Regions from separate parts of the Homo sapiens genome. Here all the other regions are linked to region 6. The links are contacts of gene promoters, found by promoter capture Hi-C in blood cells and fetal thymus (Javierre and others, 2016). All regions are on one chromosome and are shown on one strand. The core of a region is centred on a gene start or on the middle of the fragment in contact, and the rest is flanking DNA. Distances in the headings are between cores, read along the strand shown.

Region 1 (2,700 bases), core at 144-2,643, 1.2 Mb before region 6:
ATTTGTTCATCAGAATAACACTTTGTCAATGATTATTCTACCATTGCACAGTAGTTCTTAAGGATAGTAATGGTACCAAAGCCAGCAGCAATAGAATATCTCCCAAGCCAACTTTACAATTGGAGCCTTCACTGTGGGAAAGACCAGTTGCCAAGTAGAGCTGGTGGTTATCTGGGAAACTGTGCTGAAGAACACAACCACAAATGATTTTGCCAAATATACAGTATTTACTTGGTCTAGATCTCCAATTTCTATTTCTACTCACTGCCAAAACTGAGTGAATACTGTGACATTATTGAAGGAGGTTATGCAGTACATCTGTTGGTTTGGTATATAGTAGGAGAGAAGGGTTCCAGGAGGGAAAGGGGAAAGTCAGAGCATGTGAATCACTGTGACTACAATCCAAAAAGAATTATGTATGTCTGCTATTTCCAGCATTATTTTTGTCCTATATTGTACATTGCAGAGACTTGCTGACTTAAAATAGATATATAATCTTTTTCTCAAAAGAATAGATATTTGGTTGTCCATTCCAAATAACAAATTTTGGATGGGCGTGGTGACTCATGCCTGTAATCCTAGCACTTTGGGAGGCCAAGGTGAGAGATCACTTGAGGCCAGGAGTTTGAAACCACCCTGGGCAACACAGTCAGGCCCCAGTCTCTACAAAAAATTTAAAAAGTTAGTGGGGCATGGTGGTACATTCCTGTAGTCCCAGCTACTCAGGAGACTGAGATAGGAGGATGGATTGAGCTCAAGTGTTCTAACTTATAGTGAGCTCTGATCACACCACTGCGCTCCAGCCCAGGCAAGAGGGAGAGACCCTATCTCAAACAGCGACAACAACAAAACCAAACAAACAAAAAAGCACATTCTATCAGCTTTGATTTATGTTTTCTTCATTTGTAATGACATGTAGTTAAATGTGTCATACTTCAAAAAGAAGAAACAGATAGTAGGTGGATTTTCAATATAATATATATTAGATATAGATAATATATATTTTCAATATATAATATATGTAAAAATAAATTCAGTGATAATATCATCCTACCTGCAGTTTTAAGAATTCAGAACTCAGGCCAGGTGTGGTGGCTCATTCTGGGAGGGGAAGGCAGGAGGATCACTTGAGGCCAGAAGTTCTAGACCAGCCTGGGCAACATAGTGAGATACCTGTCTCTATTCAATAAAAATAAAAATAAAAATAATTCAGAACTCAATGCTTTATACTCACTGAAAGTTGTTCCTCTAAACTGACTTGAAATCATGTTCCAAATAAACTGAGAATTAAAGTAAGAGACGAGGCCGGTTGTGGTGGCTCATGCCTGTAATCCCAGCACTTTGGGACGACAAGGCAGGTGGATGACCTGAGGTCAGGAGTTTGAGACCAGCCTGGCCAACATGGTGAAACCCTGTCTCTACTAAAAATACAAAAATTAGCCGGGCATGGTGGCACACACCAGTAATCCCAGCTACTCAGGAGGCTGAGGCCCGAGAATCACTTGAGCCTGGGCATGGTGGCTCATACCTATAATCCCAGCACTTTGGGAGGCCGAGGCAGGTGGATCACCTGACGTCAGGAATTCGAGACCAGTCTGGCCAACATGGTGAAACCCCATCTCCACTAAACATACAAAATTAGCTGGGTGTGGTGGCACATGCCTGTAGTCTCAGCTATTCTGGAGGCTGATACAGGAGAATTGCTTGAACCCTCCCGGGAGGCAGAGGCTGCGGTGAGCCGAGATGGCTCTGCTGCACTCCAGCCTGGGCGAGGCAGAGAGACTCTGCCTCAAAAAAAGAAAAATAATAATAATAAATAGGAGATGAATAAATTGGGATAAAGTGTTTTTGAAGGACAGTCTAGGATATAAAATGAACTGGTTGTTTGACTAAAAATACTACAAATGTTTCTTTCAAATTACATTTCTTTTTTGTCTATTGGAAGGTAGGCACTGATTTCTATGTCTTTCTATTCCCTAATAGAACCTACTGTTGACCTCTCAGTCAATATTTAATGGATGATATAGAACTAGTGAAAAACCATGCAATTTAACTAGAAAAAAAAAGTATAATCTATTTTCTTTTCCTTTTTCTTTCTTTCTTTCTTTCTTTTTTTTTTTTTTTTTGAGACGGTATCTTGCTCTGTCACCTAGGCTGGAGTGCAGTGGTGTGATCTCGGCTCACTGCAACCTCTGCCTTCCAGGTTCAAGTGATTCTCTTTCTCAGCCCCCAGAGTAGCTGGGACTAGGAGCGTGCCCCACCACACCTGGCTAATTTTTCTATTTTTATTAGAGACAGGGTTTCACCATGTTGGCCAGGCTGATCTCGTACTCCTGGTCTCAGGTGATCTGCCTGCCCGGGTCTCCCAAAGTGCTGGGATTACAGGCATGAGCCACTGCACCTGGTCTAATCTATTTTCAATGTATAAGAGAAAAATAGTGTTAAGTGTCTTGGTGATGGTGATGATGGTAGGAGTAATGGTGTGTTTTCCTTACATTTAATTTCTACAGGCTATGGCAATTGCCCTATAAAAGCCACCCATTTTAAGCACAAAAGTGAATGGTTTTTAGTAAACTTATATGGGATCATATATTTTTAATTGAAATATTTTTTGAGTTAATTATAGATTCATATGCCATTGTATGAAATAATACAGAGAGATTCCACGTATACTTGCTCAATTTCCCCCAGTGGCAACAC
Region 2 (2,700 bases), core at 139-2,638, 1.6 Mb after region 6:
CATTCATGGAGAAGAAAATAATCACACATTCCATGATTCTGATTTTCATTGTTCACAAGAGGACAAAGTCACTCATGAAAAGCAGACCCCTTTCTGTCACTAGGTCTCCTTATGCCTTCACAAGACAGAAGCCTAAGGTAATATCCTCAACTGGAGTTTGCTAGACATTGCAACAGCAAGGTGCGGTAAGTAGGTTTTGAATCTGCTGATGACAAATGCCCCTCCTCCAAGATAAATTTTGTAAAAGCAATTCATTGGGGTGAAGTGAATAGGATAAGATAATAAGGTTCAAAGAGTAAGTTACAGGAGATAGTCCAGGCTTTATCCTTAGATTATCTAGAAATGATGGAGCATAGATCAGAATAGTTTTTCTGCCACCTCCACCCAGACCTTGGATGAAAAGCTCATCACAGTGACGTTCCCATCATCCTGTGGAAACACTGGCATGCTGATTTTGCTGGCCATATAGCTTCAAAGTCTGCCCTTATCTAGAATGCATCGTGCAAGAAACTAACGTGAACTCTTGTTCATCGTGCAAGGGACTAACAGGAACTTTTACTAAGGGGCTAATTCATTCTGGGTTCCATTTGTTTTCTTCATACAAAAGCTCTTGAGTGTGCCTCCTACGAGAGGATAAAACTCTCTGGGCATTTTTGAAAGTACTGAGGATAGTGAAGTTTTTTAAAGTAGTACTCTGTCTCTTACTCCAATAAGGAATCAATAGGCACTTTACAACTGCAGTTAAAGTGGCATTTTCAATCACACTAATCATGGGCAAGTTTCCTAAGTAATTAAAACCACTTTAAAACAAAAAAGAATGGTGATCATTCATGCTTGGTTTGAGATCTCTACCTCACAGCTGTTGATTTTAGAATTAGAATGTAGTGGTGTGTCCAAACAAGTTTTGCCACCAGGATTAGATGCTAGTCTCACTAGAAAGTGAATTTAAATTCGCTTACTTCAACCCCCATCTCATCCCCACCACATTTAAAGATAGAAAAGTATCTATATGATCTATATGTCTACTTAACGACAGACTCAGCTTCAAGTCTGTAAGGTTTTTTGATTGCAGGTCATTACAGTCTTGACCCTGCGTAATGCCTTCAGTCTCTCCAGATGATCATGCTATTAAGAGGTCGCCACAACTTTTGATAATATTCATCTTCCCTGATATTTTGAATCTCCTGCTGAGACACAGGAAGACAGGAAACTAGACTATGTTCACCAACCATTTGAGTGATTCTGTGTGCCATACACTAGAGCTGCTGATACATAAAATTCCTGACATTTAAGTGGAAATGTCTGCACTATAAGACTCGCCCATAACTCCTAAGTCACATCATAAGAATTTCAATTGCATAAAATATATGCAAGTCTTAGGAAATGTTTGTAAGTTTTAGGAAATGTTGGTCAGGGCCTTCATAGCCAGCTAGATGTTTCAGAAGTGGAAGTGAATTGCTTTTCTGGATGCATTGTCACTGAATTTTACCATTCTTTTCTATTTAATATTTTAGCAAAATTGCACAATAGACATCAAATTTTATCTCATCCAAAGGTTGGGAGAGGTCATATTTTATCTCATCCAAAGGTTGGGAGAGGTCATGTTTTATCTCATCCAAAGGTTGGGAGAGGTAATGTGCCATGGGCTCTGAGCATCCATCCAGCACATTTTTTGCTGGGCATGCTGAGTGCAAGGCCCTAACTCCTGTTACCCAGGCCATTTCTCAGGATTGTATTTGCAGTAAGCAATGTTAAGTAATGAGGTAGCATATCACCCTAAATAAAGAGAAGTCTTTTTTTCTGTTTACTGTAAAGCAGTAAAAATGCGAAGCTCAGTGGTCCTCAGTTGAGGTGAAAACCCACTGCATATGTAACATCTGTCTTCACCTCTCCAAGTCATCCCCATGGGATTTGAGAGACAAGGGAGCCAAAGGGACCATGCTGACACTTTGGATACTGCTATGCTATGTGTAGTGAAGTCCTTTGTCTCTGACTCAGGAGTCTTGTGTCTTCTAGCATCCAATGAAACAGGAACAGGCTAACTTGTGGGCTTGTAAGTAAAGTCATAGATGCTTCACGAATTGACATGTAAATTTTATTTTCTTCTAATAAATAAGAATATCAGAAGCATAATACTGTATTAAGTTAGGATAGTAATGGATTATGTATTACTGTGTGTGTATATAGATATATGTATATAATGCACATTTAATCCATATGTGGCACCCGTAATCAAACATAGCATTTTACAGTTAACGCTTGGCATACATTTTTTAATCTAAGTTAGGATAGTAATGGATTATGTATTACTATGTGTATGTATATAGATATATATATATATAAAATGCACATTTAATCCATATGTGGCACCTGTAATCAAACATAGCATTTTACAGTTAACGCTTGGCATACATTCTTTAATCTTCACAAAACCCTGTGAAGTAAGCAAGGCAAGAGAAGGTGACCCCATTTTATGACATGAAAGGGTTCATAAATGTTAGAGCTAGAACTTGAGTTTTGTTTTTGTGGGCTGTAGCTTGCTGCCTCCCTGTCGTAATTACTATGGTCACCATCACAGTTAGGGTTTTGTTAGGAAATTAGTTTCAGAAGCAAACTGTCCTTGGGACAGGTTCTTTGTCACATGCTACAGATTTTTCTTAAAATTACAATTTACTAATTTCAAAGGGGAGAAAAGTTGGC
Region 3 (2,700 bases), core at 82-2,581, 1.7 Mb after region 6:
AACCTGAAGTGGATGATGCAACAGCACTTTTGAAAGGTCTCTCCGTACTATCTTGATTTCATCATCTAAAGTTGGTGTTGGCAAAGAGAAGATAAGTGTTTAGGGTGTTGGATATCCCAGTTACCCTGATTTGATCATTACACATTTTAGGCAGGTATCAAAATGTCACATGTACCCCAAAAGTATGTACAGCTATTACATATCAGTTTTTTAAAGAAGAAAAGGTTGGTATGGTTAGCTTTTCTATTTCAAGTGTATCATTCATCTTTCACATCTGGGATTTCTCCTATGCTCTGGTTGGTTAATAACTTTTATTCTGAAATCGGTGAGATTCTTATGACATGAAATAGTCTATAACCAGTTAAGTTTTTATTTCTCTGTTCTGTTCACATCCTGGGGACTGGGCTGCCATTACATAACTGAGCAGCCATTGGTGGTTCACACCAGCGCCACACCCAGTTATTTTCTTTCAGTATTTGAATTCCTGCACAAAAGATCTGCTGTATCTGCAAATCACTAGAGGCACAAAAGAAGTGATTACCTCTACTAAGGGTTGGGAGAAGTTTCACTAAAGGAGAGATGGTGTCCATGTTAGATTATGAAGGGTAAGTTGAAGTCCATGAAGCAGCAATGAGGGAGCCGGACATGTATGGCAGAGGAAACCACATGAACAAGGGCACAGAGCCATGAGATAGCACAGAGGAGGGAGACGTGTGGTGTGGCTGGGGAAGACTACAGAATCGGGTTACTACCGTCCAAAGCATTTGTTATTTAGCAGTTATTGACCAGCTATCATATTCAAGGCATGTGATAAGTACTAAGGGCTACAAAGACCAAATCAATTTCTGCCATTAAGGGATTTTAAATCTAAGAGCAGAGATTAGACAGAGATCTAAATGACACAGTTTACTTTGGTGTAAAGTAGTACAATAAGAGCAGTAAAAATCTAGTTCTGAGGTTTCAAAATAGAAAGTACATTCATTTGGAAAAAGGCTTCATGGAGAGGGTAGCATTTGAAATGGGCCTGAATAATGGATAGAACATTTCTGGACAGCAGTTAATGGTTGGGATTAAGGAAAAAGTGTTGTCCAGAAAATGGTGACCTACAGAATAGTGGTACCAGTAATGAAGGCCAAGGAGAATTGATTTTAGGGTCAAGGTGATAACTGCAGCTTAGATAGATTATTTTGGTTTCAGGCACAGTTGGAAGTATGAGAACGATTGGAATTTCAGAAGGAAATTATATTGGAAACAGAACCTTGAAGGAAGTCCTTGTTTATAGGCTTAGAAGATCAAGAGAGGTCAATTAATATGGCTAAAAGGAACAGACAGATAAGAAACTGAAGAGTTTCAAAAATGAAACTTTTATTGGCAATGTACAGAGCTGTTGTAGAAGATGAAGCCAAAGAACAGGCATTGACTTTAGCAATTTAGTAGACCATTGATAAGTTACAGTAGTCCCCCCTTACGAGGGGAGGGAGTACATTCCTAGACCCTCAGTGGATGCGTGAAACTGCAGATAGTACCAAATCCTATACATACTATGTCTTTTTGATCTGATAACCCAGTCAACTACCAAGTGACTAATGGATTGGGTAGTATACAGTGTGGATATGCTGGACCAAGGGATGAGTCTCCTCCCAGACAGGACAATTCAAGATTGCATCACACTACTCAGAATGACATGCAATTTAAAACATGCATCATTTATTTCTATAATTTCCCATTTAATATTTTTGGACCATAGTTGACTGTTGGTAACTGAAACTACAGAAAGTAAAACCACAGATAAAGGGGGGACCAACTGTATCTAATTTCATGCAGCAGTGGTGGTGGAAGAAGCTACTCTGATAGGAATGTTTGTGTTCCCTCCAAAATTTATGTCGAAGCTGAATCCCCAGTGCAGCAGTATTAAGAGATAAGGCCTTTAGGAGGTGATTAGGTCATGAGGGTTCTGTATTCATGAACAGCTTAGTGCCATTTAAAGGGGCTTGAGAGACCAACTTTGCCTCTTCTCCCTTCTGCCATATGAGGACACAGTGCTCGTCCCCTCCAGAGCAGGGGTCCCCAACTTCTGGTCCGTGGCCCATTAGGAACCGGGCCACATAGAAGGATGTGAGCAGCTAGCAAGACTTCATTTGTATTTACAGCTGCTCCCCATCACTTGCATTGCTACCTGAGCTCTGCCTCCTGTTGGATCAAGAGTTGCATTAGATTCTCATAGGAGCATGAATCCTATTGTGAACTGTGCATGTGAGGGATCTAGGTTTCGTGTCCTTGTGAGAATCTAATGCCTGATGATCTGTCACTGTCTCCCATTATCCCCACATGGCACCATCTAGATGCAGCAGAACAAGCTCAGAGCTCCCACTAATTCTGTATTGTGGTGAGATGTATAATTATTTCATTATATATTACAATGTAATAATAATAGAAATAAAGTGCACAATCAATGTAATGCACTTGAATCATCCCTAAACCATCCCCTCTTCCCTGCAAGACGGTAGAAAAATTGTCTTCCGTGAAATTGTCTCCCATGTCTTCCTGGTGCCAAAAAAGGTTGGGGACCTTTGCTCCAGAGCATGCAGCAGCAAGGCACCATCTTGGAAGCAGAGAACAGCCCTCACCAGACACTGAACATGCTGATGATCTTGATCTCTGTTGTTTATACATTACCCAGTCTTTGGTATTTTGTTATAG
Region 4 (2,700 bases), core at 90-2,589, 1.6 Mb after region 6:
CATTCTCCTGCCTCAGACTCCTGAGTAGCTGGGATTATAGGCGCCTGCACCACACCTGGCTAATTTTTTGTATTTTTATCAGAGGGGGTTTCACTGTGTTAGCCAGGATGGTCTCGATCTCCTAACCTCATGATCCGCCCACCTCAGCCTCCCAAATTGCTGGGATTACAGACGTGAGCCACCGTGCCTGGCCCATGTACATGTATTTTTAGAAATATATTTGCCTCCTTAAAATGGAATAATTTTCATAATTTTAAAAATTGCTTTTTATCACTTAAAGTATTATGAGCATATTTTCATATTATTAAATATTCTCCTGTAAAGTTCTTAGGAGCTGTATAATATCTGTTTGTGAGAATGTATCAATGTCAATTTAGTCTATACTTTATTTGGTTTGAGTTGGATTTTTATGTTTCCACTGTCTAGCACCTGTTCCTTGGACAAGAATACCTGCTTCTTCTGAGGAATTCCTTTTTTCTGACCTCAGTCCCTTTTACCCTTAACTGTGGTTGAACGGCAGATGCCATATCTTTACATAAACTCACCTTCTTGGCCACAGTGATAAGTAAGTTGAGGGACATACTGACCAAAAGTAGACTGATCAGAATTTCTAACCTTTTTGTAACTGGTTAATCTGTAGGCCAGGCACAGAACTCAACAATTCACAACTATACATCAATCCTCACATAGTTTTGGGATAAGAATAGCATGGCATAGTTAGAAACCTCAAGCCATAAAATAAATTTAAGTTATCTCAAGTTGGTATCACCGCAGGACACCTTACTGAAGCATTTGAATCCTTCCCCAGAATTTCTCAGGTTGAATCTAGAAAATAGAGGGCTTTTCCTTTTGGTGGTGAAACTGGGAAAATAGGCATCTCAGGATAGCTCATTTTTCATTGAAAAGCTGGTTTGCAGTTGGAAAGAATGAAGTCAGAGAGAGAGGAGGGAAAAATAGGTACAGGGAGGAAGAGTTCTGTGACAGTATTCCCTGAGGTGGCAATACCCTTTCCTTCCTGTTTGTTCATTCCATAGCCTAACTGGCCTGTTTGATGAACTAGCTTGAGGGTATATTTTTGTTATTCTGAAGCAAAAGAGTCCTGATTTTTGCTTCGGAGCCATTTTGCTAGACCAAATATTTCTAAAATACAAATTTGTAGTTTAAAAATGGTTAGATGATAAGATCGAGGACCTAACAAAGGAAAAATAATGTTTTTTGATAAATAGGACAAAGCAGAGATGCTATATATGATATATTAAATAAGGAGAGGGCCAGGCACGGTGGCTCATGCCTGTTAACCCAGCACTTTGGGAGGCCGAGGCAGGTGGATCACCTGAGGTCAGGAGTTCAAGACCAGCCTGGCCAACATGGTGAAGCCCCATCTCTACTAAAAATACAAAAATTAGCCGGGTGTGGTGGCATGCGCCTGTAGTCCCAGCTACTCGAGGCTGAGGCAGGACAATCGCTTGAACCCAGGAGGCGGAGGTTGCAGTGAGCCGAGATCGCGCCACTGCACTCCAGCCTGGGTGACAGAGTGTGGCTCCGTCTCAAAAAAATAAATAAAAATAGGGAGAGAGGGTAGGTGGGATTGGTATCAAATCCTGAAGCTGGTGTGGAAGACCATATCTATCCAAGAGAAGAGGAGGCCCACCAACACTTGGCCTCTGAATACTCTGCAGCAGAAGACTTGGTCATGGTTAAAGACAGGAGGAATGATTAAACTTTTGTAGCCTAGGAAATAGTTTATGGGCCTTTATTACACAAAAGGAGAGTTCTGGTTTCAGGAGTGGTTAAGACATTTCCATTCCTTCTTTGTCTCAACAATCACATACCATACCAGAGGAATGTTGAACAGAAGAACACACTCTATCCACATTGAAATGAAATGACACATCTACATTTCTGCACCACAACATCTGAAGACAAAGTGGCTATATGATTGGCAAATGACTTAATAGAGTGGAGGATGACTACACTTAAGCATCTACAGAGGGGAATGCCAGTGGAGTATGAGAGGACAGAATGAGAACTACTCCCCTAGTTTACCATGCAGAATCTCAAAACGGGTTAGAAATTGGAGGTACCAGTGATCATAGGAGACAGAAATGAGCCAGTAGACTGAGAACAAGGATAGTTTGGAATGCACATAAAATAAGATCAGGTCCTTATCACTGCCCCCACCCCTGCAGAAAATAGTAGGTAGATGATCTAGAGAGCCTTGGCTGGGGGATGGGGGGTGGGGAAGAGATATGGCCTGGCAAAATGAAAAGTTGCTTCTAGACAAAGACAGAACTCTTGAAGTGCTTCAACTGGGTGAAAGTTTGACAGAGAACACTCAACAACCCTGGCCACCGACAAAAGAAAACAAGGACATTTGTCTATCTTGGCCTGGACCTTAGCATAGAAAATGTTTTCCTACCCCTACTCTAAGTGGCAACTATATACTTGACGCTGCCATTTCTTCTTTTTTTTCCTTTTTTTTTTTTTAGACAGAGTCTCACTGTGTCACCCAGGCTGGAGTCCATTGGCGTGATATCAGCTTACTGCAGCCTTGACCTCCCAGGCTCAAGTGATCCTTTCACCTCAGCCTCCCGAGTAGCTGGAACTACAGGCTTGAGCCACCACACCCAGCTAATTAAAATTTTTTTTTTATTTTTTAAAGACAGGGTCTCACTGTGTTGCCAAGGTGGTCTGAAACTC
Region 5 (2,700 bases), core at 194-2,693, 1.4 Mb after region 6:
AGAATCTAAATACTAGTAAAGGCAGAGTAGTAGAAACATTGAGTGTGTAGGCTGCAGAATCAATCAGAACTGTGTGCAAACCTCTCCCTAACTGAACTATCTGGGACAAATAACTTCACCTCTGGAATCTGTTTCCTTATCAGCAAAATGAAGATAATTATAAATACTTCTCAATTTCAATGTAAATTAGATGCAATAATGCCACTGCAGTACCTAACACAGGGCCTAGCACACAGTAAGAGTTCAACTGGTAAGTTACTGTTGATGGTCTCCATCTCTGCCTGTGATGGTTAATACTGTGTGTCAACTTGATTGGATGGAAAGGATACAAAGCATTGATCCTGGGTGCATCTGTGAGGGCGTTGCCAAAGGAGATTAACATTTGAGTCAGTGGGCTAGGAAACCCAGACCCATTCTTAATCTGGGTAGGCACCATCTAATCAACTACAAGCATCACTAGAATATAAGCAGGCAGGAAAATGTGAAAAGAGAGACTGGCCTAGCCTCCCAGCCTACATCTTTCTCCGGTGCTGGATGCTTCCTGCCCTCGAACATCAGACTCCAAGTTCTTCAGTTTTGGAACTCAGACTGGCTCTCCTGGATCCTCAGCCTGCAGATGGCCAACTGTGGGACCTTGTGATCATGCAAGTTAATACTTAATAAACTCATATATATATAAAATATATATACACACACACATATATATGTACGTATATTCCATTAGTTCTGTCCCTCTAGAGAACCCTAATATACTGCCCATGGCATTCGCTTTCAGCACACACATTTATATATTCTTTTACATAATGCTGGTTAATGTAGGACCCCTAACCTTCACCTCCCTACTCCAAACACATACTCTAAAGCTACATAAATTTGGTTATTATTCCTTGCTTTAAAGCAACATGGTACTTGATATATTCATCCCCTTCACCTCCCAATCTATATTTAGATTGTACTATGTGTCCTCCCATAGCCCACCTTTGGAAAACCTAACAAATGTCTTTGTGATAACAATGAAGTTAAATGAACTGAATTTGCTACCCCTGGATAGAGGGAGTTTGATATGAAAAGTACACATTATAGCAAGTCACTTTGCAATGAAGTACAGTGGGCAAATGCACAACTGGCATTTCTAAGGATGAACTTTGAGCTGAATGTCAGGTATTCACTGGTTTCTCCATGTGCCCTAATGCCCACTGGGATTCAACTTAGTGAGAAAAACAACCAAAAGAAAATAAAAGACAGATATAGTTGTGTGTCTATGTGTATTTCTTCCTCAATTGCATTTTTAAATTCTACATCATAGTATAAAAGAAGAGAAATAAATGAATCTATATATGCTCATTCTAGTCTATACACTATAAACAAAATAACAGTGGTGAAGACCAAAAATTAAGGTCCATGAGGCTGGAATGTTTATTGCTTAATTCACTGCCACATCCGCAGTGTCCACAAAAGTGCCTACCACATATAGCATTAACTATCTGTTAAATTAACTAAAAAGATCAACTAAGTACAACAGAGAAATATGCGTGCTTTCATTGGGAAGTGAAGTCATTTATTCAGAAAAGCATGTAACAAATATTGAAAAGGAGGGTGATACCAAAAGAAAGCTATCAAATTAAGGAGGCATTTGCATTTCTTCTTTTGTCACCACCCACCTTTAAGATAAAAATTAACAGTTTTTCAAAAGAAAATTTCTCTCTCCTAAATGAACATAACCAGAATCCCTTTCTGGATGTAGATTTAATTACATCTCACTTAAGTGTAAGGAGAACACTCCTGAAAGTAAAAGCCAGAGGTATAAGAAAATTACTGAAATTCTAGATGCAGAATCCAACATGTCCATGAACAAGTTTCTTCATTTCTCTGAAATACTTCAAAGGTTTACTGTATGAATAAAATCAAACAACATATGAAAAGAGCTTAGCACAAGGACCACTTGGAAAACTACCACAGTAATTCAGGTGAGAGACAGTTGGAAGCTAAATTAGGAAAAAAGGTCACTTTCCTCCAATTGAAATAAACAGAACAAGTTATTTTAAAAGACAACATACTATAAATATGTCCCTTATAATAAGGACTCAGCAAATGTTAATTTCTTATCTATCCTTCTTTTTCAAGGATAATATCCTTGAATGAAACTGTCCAATCATCAGATTGTCTAGCAAGCATAATACAGATTAGTATCCATATACAAGGAAGAGCAATTAGCATAGTCATTAATTAGGTACAAATAAATTAGGAGGAAGGCATTAACTAAGACTACAGAGATAAGACAAGCAATAGCACCAAAGAAAGAAAGAAAATACTACGGTGAACTTCATAAGGACAATAAATAAGAAAATATGCAGCATGGAACCAAACTATGAAGAACTGTGAACACAAATCATCTTTCCTCTTTATTTGATTTTTATTGATGCATTTTATTTTATTTATTTTTTATTTCAGACAGGGTCTCACTCTGTCATCCAGGCTGGAGGGCAGTGGCAGAATCATAGCTCTCTGCAGCCTCAAACTCCTGGGCTCAAGAGATCCTCGTGCCTCTGCCTCCTGAGTATCTGGGATGTGCCACCACACCTGACTACTTTTTAAAAAAAATTTTTGGAGACAAGGACAGGATCTCACTATGTTGCCCAGGCTGGTCTTGAACTCCTGGCCTCAAGCAATCTTCCTGCTTCAGTTTCCCAAAGTGCTGGG
Region 6 (2,700 bases), core at 51-2,550:
GCCACCGCGCCCGACCATTTTATTTTCAATCAGATGTCTTTATCATCACATAGCTGAAAATAAAATAACCAAATAAAACACAATGATCGAAAAAGATAAAACACTAATTAGCATAATCAGTGTTCTTTTTCCACTACCTCTTAAATGGTTGTACATAAAAAGGCTCACACACAAAAATACACACACATACATTCACTTACACCTCGTGAGTGGAAGAAAACTACCGGGGGAAAAAAAACGTAGAGATGAGAGATTAGATGAGGGAAACAGCAGTGCAAGCAGTTGGGCTTGAAAATTCATTCATTCAACAAATATTTTGAAGCCCCTATTTTAAGTCAGTTGTTTTTCCAGCTGGTGGGCAAAGGATAATGAACAAGTCAGACTCTGTGCCCTCAAAGAACTTAGAGTTTTAAACGACTCGAATGGGGAAAGAAAGTAAAAAATAGGGCAAAAGACGCCGATTTTATCATGAATAAAATTTCACATTTCTTCAACAGGAAAATGATACTAATTCATTTATTTTATATATACATTCTCTCAAGAGGTTATTTTTGTCTCAAATAGATAGAAACCAGGACAGGGATCCTTGAAAAGCAGCCACTGACAATCCTCAAGTAACTTCCTTCCTCTGCTTCACTTTCTCCTACTGCTCAAGGGGGTGTTACACTTTGACGACTGACTAAACCTCGAGGGCCAGAAACAAACCAAAGCAAAATTCTGCCTCCAAGGTGAGTAATGGAGGGGCGGATTCTAGATTCTCTAACCTCCTTTAGCCTTCCTTTGAGGCAGTGACAGAGCGATTACTAAGCCTACGGTTCCCAAACGACTCAGGTGAACCTGATTTACAGGAAAGGCGGGCTGTAGCTAGGGATGGAGACAGTACCTATCAGCAAGCGGCTCCACAGCTCGGTTCTCTATCTATTCTGAAGACATGCGGGGCCACTCACTGCTCCTGATAGTCCTCTACCTCCCACAGACCCCACCCACTACGACACGGAAAACTGGATTACCCAAATACCTGCCTCTGAGTCTGGGGACGCAGGCAAGCACAAAGACAAGGGGGATGGAGCTTCTACACAGGGCCCCAGCGCTGTCGCTGTGGCTGCTGCTGCCGCTACGGCTTAGTGCACCAGACGCTGCATTTCAGGTGCTCCTACAAAAGAGGCCACTCCTGGAACGCCGGGAGCTCAGACGCTGCCCTTTGCTCGCGAGCCAAGTCAGCCAAGGTTAACCTTCGCGGAACCCGGCGAGGAGCGCAAGCCTGGCCTTCCCCAAACACAGATCCGAGCTTTTCACCCTCTACCCTCCCCTCAGCCTGGCCTTTTCTTCCGCCCTCACAGCCACCGCGACCCAACGCTGAGGAAAGACCCCGACTTGTGGTGTCCTTCCCCTTGCCCAAACTGGCCACGAAAGGACATATAGCGAGAGAGAAAGAGGTGCGGGGGGACGGGGGGGGTCGATTGAAAATACTGGGTGAGGGAATGGAAGACGAGGAGCGTGGTATGGCAGGTTAATGGGACTGAGCACAGGAAGAGGAAGAAAGAATTGAGGGTTGAATCTGTAGAACACTCAGGCTTTCAGCAAGGACACCTCATTGGGTCCTTTCTCACTGCTATAGTACGCGGGTGGCTGGACCTACATGCTTCCTGCTGTGGCTGTCTCGGAACCCGTGGTCCTCCGCTTCATGTGAGTGACGTCGTGGCGGGTCACTCACTCGGGGATCGCCGATTGCGATCGTAGGGGTCTTCCTTCTCTAACTTGCCTCCAGGAGAGAGGACCTGGCCTGCGCTGCTAATGGGTAGTCCGTTCGCAGCAGGACCAGCCCTGGCCTAAGGAAACAGGAAAGAGTTTGAGACTTCCTTCTAAAGGAGCCACGTTTGAGAAATGGGATGCAGGCCTAAGTTAAGAATGCTACAGAAAAATATCGATCCCTAAGCGTATTTACTGTTATGTGAATGTGTGTGTCAAAGGACTTAGGTGCTTTGGGGGAGAGGAGGGTGAAGACAGGAATTTATTCATTGAGCGAATAGTTATTAAGCGCCCACTCTATTCCAGACACCGTTCTAGGCATTAGGTGAACAGCAGTGAACAAAACAGACGGAAATCTGTGTCTACTTGTAGCTCACATTTTAGAGAGGAAGGCACATACTAAGCAAAGTAATTAGAAACATACTGTATTTTAGGTCGTGATAGTCCTGAAGAGAAACGTAAAGCAGGGAAGAAGGGTATAAAGTGACACAGGAAGGTCTTGCTGAAAAGATGACTTTTAAGTAAAGGGCTGACAGAAGTGGGAGATTTAACCACGCGAATATCTTGGGAAAGTGCAGTCAGACAGAGGGACCAGCCATTGCAGAGGTCATGAAGCAGAAACGTGCTAGAATAGCAAGGAGGCCTGTAGGGCAGAGTTGAGTGAAGGGTTTAGTCCTTCACTGGAGATTAAATCAAGGCGAGCAGGTCATGAAGATCTTGAGGACATCTAACTTTTATTCTAAATGAAATAGGACTTTGGAGCGTTTTGAGCAGTAGAGTGATGGGCTCTGACTTCCTTTTAAGAGGGTCACTCTTTAAGGAAAATACACAGAGGAGGACGTGGTAGGAGAAAGGAGACCAATAAGAAGAGTTTTGCAATAATCCAGAGGAAGCATAATGGTGGTTTGACTATGGGTGGTAAGAAATGGCCAGTTATATTCTTGATGCACT
Region 7 (2,700 bases), core at 85-2,584, 1.4 Mb after region 6:
ATCACAGGACCTGCCCTGAAGCCATGGGAGCTGACCTAGATGCTCAGCATATGGGTGCTGGCCTGGAACCTGGGTCCACAGAAATGGTCTTACAGCCTGGGTCAATGGGAGCTGGTATAGTGCTGAGATGTATTGGGATGGTCCTGAAACCTTGGATCTCTTAAGTATGGGGTTGCAGCAGCCAGCCTGGAGGGTGGGGCTACAGGGAATGGCCTTGTACTGGGGCAGACCTGAAGCCCAGGGCTGTGTGGGCCAACCTGGCTCTCAGCTGGTCTGAAACCTGGAGAGGGCCTGAAGCTGGGACAGCTTGAAGCCTGTATCCACAGGTGCCTGCCTGTGACAGCCAGCCTGGTACTAAAGGTAGCTCTAAGCCCAGGGCCACTGGGGCCAGCCTGGCCCTAAGACAAGTCTAAAACTTGCATCAATTGGGTCTGGCCTGGTGGTGGAGGTTGGAGGAGCTGGAACCTTGGGCTGCAGAATCCTGCTTAGTACCAGGGTAGGCTTGGACGCTCAATCCATAGGTACCATCCTGGAGTCTGGGGCTACGGGGGCCTGCCTTGCACTGAGTTTCACTGAGGTGGGCCTGGTGTTGGGTTCTGAGGCAAAATCTTTTGCTTACTGCCCTCTTCCTCCCCTAAGCAAAGGGTATCTTTCTCCACGTGCTGCCTGAGGTTGCAGGCTGGGGGCAGTAATATAGGTCATGTAAAACTGTTCTTTCTACTCTCTTCAATGTGTTTTTTCTGATTTCTCTGCTACATCCAGGTGCGGTCATCTCTCACCTGGTTTCCTTAGCTTTTATTAAAGTATTTTTGTGCAAGAATAGTTGTTCAATTTATGTTTCTGTGTGAAGACAAGCACTGGGAAGTCCCATTCTGTCATTTTGCTGACCTCCACCAATACACAGATTTGACTTTTAAGGAATTAAATTTCTATACAAATCTTCAACTTCCATGAGATTAAGGATCTCTTTTCCTACCTTCCCCTTCACAATCCTGTACAGCAGAAATGCCATCTCCCACACATCTGAATCTTATTATCATCATTACCATTACCTGAAAAATCCTCTGGGACCAAAGGGACAATTTGACAACTCTTTTTAATAGGTATGCCACAAAAGCTGCACCCCTTCCCATCTACTCATCTCATTAACAATAATTATTTACACAATAATTATTAATACTTTATTTCCAATAAAATACTTTTACATATTTAATAATCACTTACAAAAAATTGTAATGAGTCTCTAGATTCATTTCTTTTCAATAAACTGATGAAGCAAATACAACTTACCAGCTCTACATTTCCAAGAACTTAAAAAAGAGGGCTTCAGAAGTAGACATTTGTATATCTTGAGAAGCAGTGGCACCTCTTTAGCTTTAGCTCCCATTGATACTGGCTAAGGAGGAAAAGGGAGCTAAAGTCTCTGCTAAAAGGGAATTGCAGAGGGTGCTATACACATTTTGCTGCCTATACTGGTAGAACCTGTTTGGCTTGGTCATTTTGTTTGAGGATTTTTCCAAGTTACTTCACTCTTTATAGACAAGAAGAAACATATATCTAATGAATTTTAATTGATTTGGGCTCTGTAAAATATCTTCTGCTTTTCTTATCAAATCAAGCTAGAATGCATAAAAATTATCTGTCAAGCTATCAACTGCTGAGAATATGGCTGAGAAAAAATACAGACAGGGTAAGTAGAGACCGTCTGTTTTAATCTCTAAAAAGAATGCTCCCTCAGTTTCTTGCCTCCTACATTTAAAAAGATTCTGGCAGCAAACATAGTACTCTGGATATAAGGAGATTTTTTTTGGTTTATGTATGTTTGATATTGTTAAATCAAGTTAAGCCTAAAGCTACCTCTTTTACATATTTTAAGTTCAGCCTAAAGGTTTCTCCATATGTACTAAACTAACCTAGCTGGAGACAAACAGACTGTATCCACCCTTGTGCCAATGACTGAGTTTTGGCCAATCAAATGTGGCCAACTGTTCAAACCATGTTCAAATAAGTCAAATGCTGAGCTATAACCAATCCAGTTGTTTCTGGACCTCACTTCCATTTTCTGTGCACCACTTTCCTTTTTCTGTCCATAAATCTTCTACCATGCAGCTGCACTGGAGCCTCTGAGCCTACTCTGGCTCAGGAGGCTGCCTGATTCACGAATTGTTCTTTGCTCAAACTCTTTTAAATTTAATTCAGCTAAAGTTTTTAACAATATTTTTCATATTAAAAAATAAACTTAAAAAAAATTGCCACATTGTCCTAACTCCCAATTTTTCAAAGTAAATCAAAGAGCACTTTTATAAAACTACTGGAATTGAAACAGCCTTTGCAAAAATTACAAGTGAGAAAATTGTTAACAGTGAAAAAGATCTGATCTAACCAACCTCCATCTTGCCTTTAACCTCCAAACTGCCCTTAGGTATTGCTGGGTTTGGGTCAAGCTAACTTTGGGAGAAATTTAGTTTTTAGTTTAAATGATAATACTACTTCCCCAAAAGTAAACCATCTTTTAAAGCTAATAAAAGACCACCAGGTTAGGAGATGAGAGGAGCCTGAATCCTCCCAAGGTGTAAACATAAATGATTACCAGCCACTATTCCAGAAGTCACAAGATTTTCAACTTCCCCAGTTACTCCTGCAGATGACATCGCTATTGTAGAACCTAAGATTGGCCTTTTGAGATGTCTTTTCAGGTTT

What was found. The method cuts DNA at HindIII sites, captures the fragments that hold promoters and counts their contacts. A CHiCAGO score of 5 or more calls a contact.
Region 1: a fragment that was not itself captured here is called in contact with the fragment with the promoter of TBCK in region 6 in 1 of 17 cell types (total B cells); the score reaches 6.0 in total B cells.
Region 2: a contact is called between a fragment that was not itself captured here and the fragment with the promoter of TBCK in region 6, in 3 of 17 cell types (total B cells, naive B cells and naive CD8 T cells). The highest score is 7.2, in total B cells.
Region 3: a contact is called between a fragment that was not itself captured here and the fragment with the promoter of TBCK in region 6, in 4 of 17 cell types (total B cells, total CD4 T cells, naive B cells and 1 more). The highest score is 8.5, in total B cells.
Region 4: a contact is called between a fragment that was not itself captured here and the fragment with the promoter of TBCK in region 6, in 1 of 17 cell types (total B cells). The highest score is 8.3, in total B cells.
Region 5: a fragment that was not itself captured here is called in contact with the fragment with the promoter of TBCK in region 6 in 1 of 17 cell types (naive CD8 T cells); the score reaches 6.4 in naive CD8 T cells.
Region 7: a fragment that was not itself captured here is called in contact with the fragment with the promoter of TBCK in region 6 in 7 of 17 cell types (total B cells, total CD8 T cells, naive B cells and 4 more); the score reaches 19.2 in total B cells.

The regions. Positions count from the first base shown.
Region 1 is chr4:105,150,490-105,153,189 of GRCh38, forward strand. All of the region lies in intron 1 of TET2 (tet methylcytosine dioxygenase 2), which reads left to right. All of the region lies in intron 1 of LOC124900868, which reads right to left. Among named protein-coding and RNA genes, the nearest start is that of TET2, 5.0 kb to the left of the region's middle. The HindIII fragment of the contact is 9,556 bases long and covers 1-2,700 here.
Region 2 is chr4:107,915,220-107,917,919 of GRCh38, forward strand. The region is part of intron 1 of CYP2U1-AS1 (CYP2U1 and SGMS2 antisense RNA 1); the gene reads right to left. The region is part of intron 1 of LOC107986298 (a long non-coding RNA gene); the gene reads right to left. Among named protein-coding and RNA genes, the nearest start is that of CYP2U1, 15 kb to the right of the region's middle. The HindIII fragment of the contact is 6,871 bases long and covers 1-2,700 here.
Region 3 is chr4:108,000,105-108,002,804 of GRCh38, forward strand. All of the region lies in intron 1 of HADH (hydroxyacyl-CoA dehydrogenase), which reads left to right. Among named protein-coding and RNA genes, the nearest start is that of HADH, 12 kb to the left of the region's middle. The HindIII fragment of the contact is 2,945 bases long and covers 1-2,700 here.
Region 4 is chr4:107,937,612-107,940,311 of GRCh38, forward strand. All of the region lies in intron 1 of CYP2U1 (cytochrome P450 family 2 subfamily U member 1), which reads left to right. All of the region lies in intron 1 of LOC107986298 (a long non-coding RNA gene), which reads right to left. Among named protein-coding and RNA genes, the nearest start is that of CYP2U1-AS1, 6.8 kb to the left of the region's middle. The HindIII fragment of the contact is 4,462 bases long and covers 1-2,700 here.
Region 5 is chr4:107,668,109-107,670,808 of GRCh38, forward strand. All of the region lies in intron 5 of PAPSS1 (3'-phosphoadenosine 5'-phosphosulfate synthase 1), which reads right to left. Among named protein-coding and RNA genes, the nearest start is that of PAPSS1, 51 kb to the right of the region's middle. The HindIII fragment of the contact is 3,792 bases long and covers 1-2,700 here.
Region 6 is chr4:106,314,909-106,317,608 of GRCh38, forward strand. TBCK (TBC1 domain containing kinase) reads right to left here and starts at 1,301. Exons shown (of 26, transcript NM_001163435.3): 1 at 1,023-1,301. AIMP1 (aminoacyl tRNA synthetase complex interacting multifunctional protein 1) reads left to right here and starts at 1,642. Exons shown (of 7, transcript NM_001142416.2): 1 at 1,642-1,686. RefSeq lists enhancers at 881-970, 1,051-1,110, 1,601-1,850. The HindIII fragment of the contact is 5,300 bases long and covers 1-2,700 here.
Region 7 is chr4:107,706,954-107,709,653 of GRCh38, forward strand. All of the region lies in intron 1 of PAPSS1 (3'-phosphoadenosine 5'-phosphosulfate synthase 1), which reads right to left. Among named protein-coding and RNA genes, the nearest start is that of PAPSS1, 12 kb to the right of the region's middle. The HindIII fragment of the contact is 3,967 bases long and covers 1-2,700 here.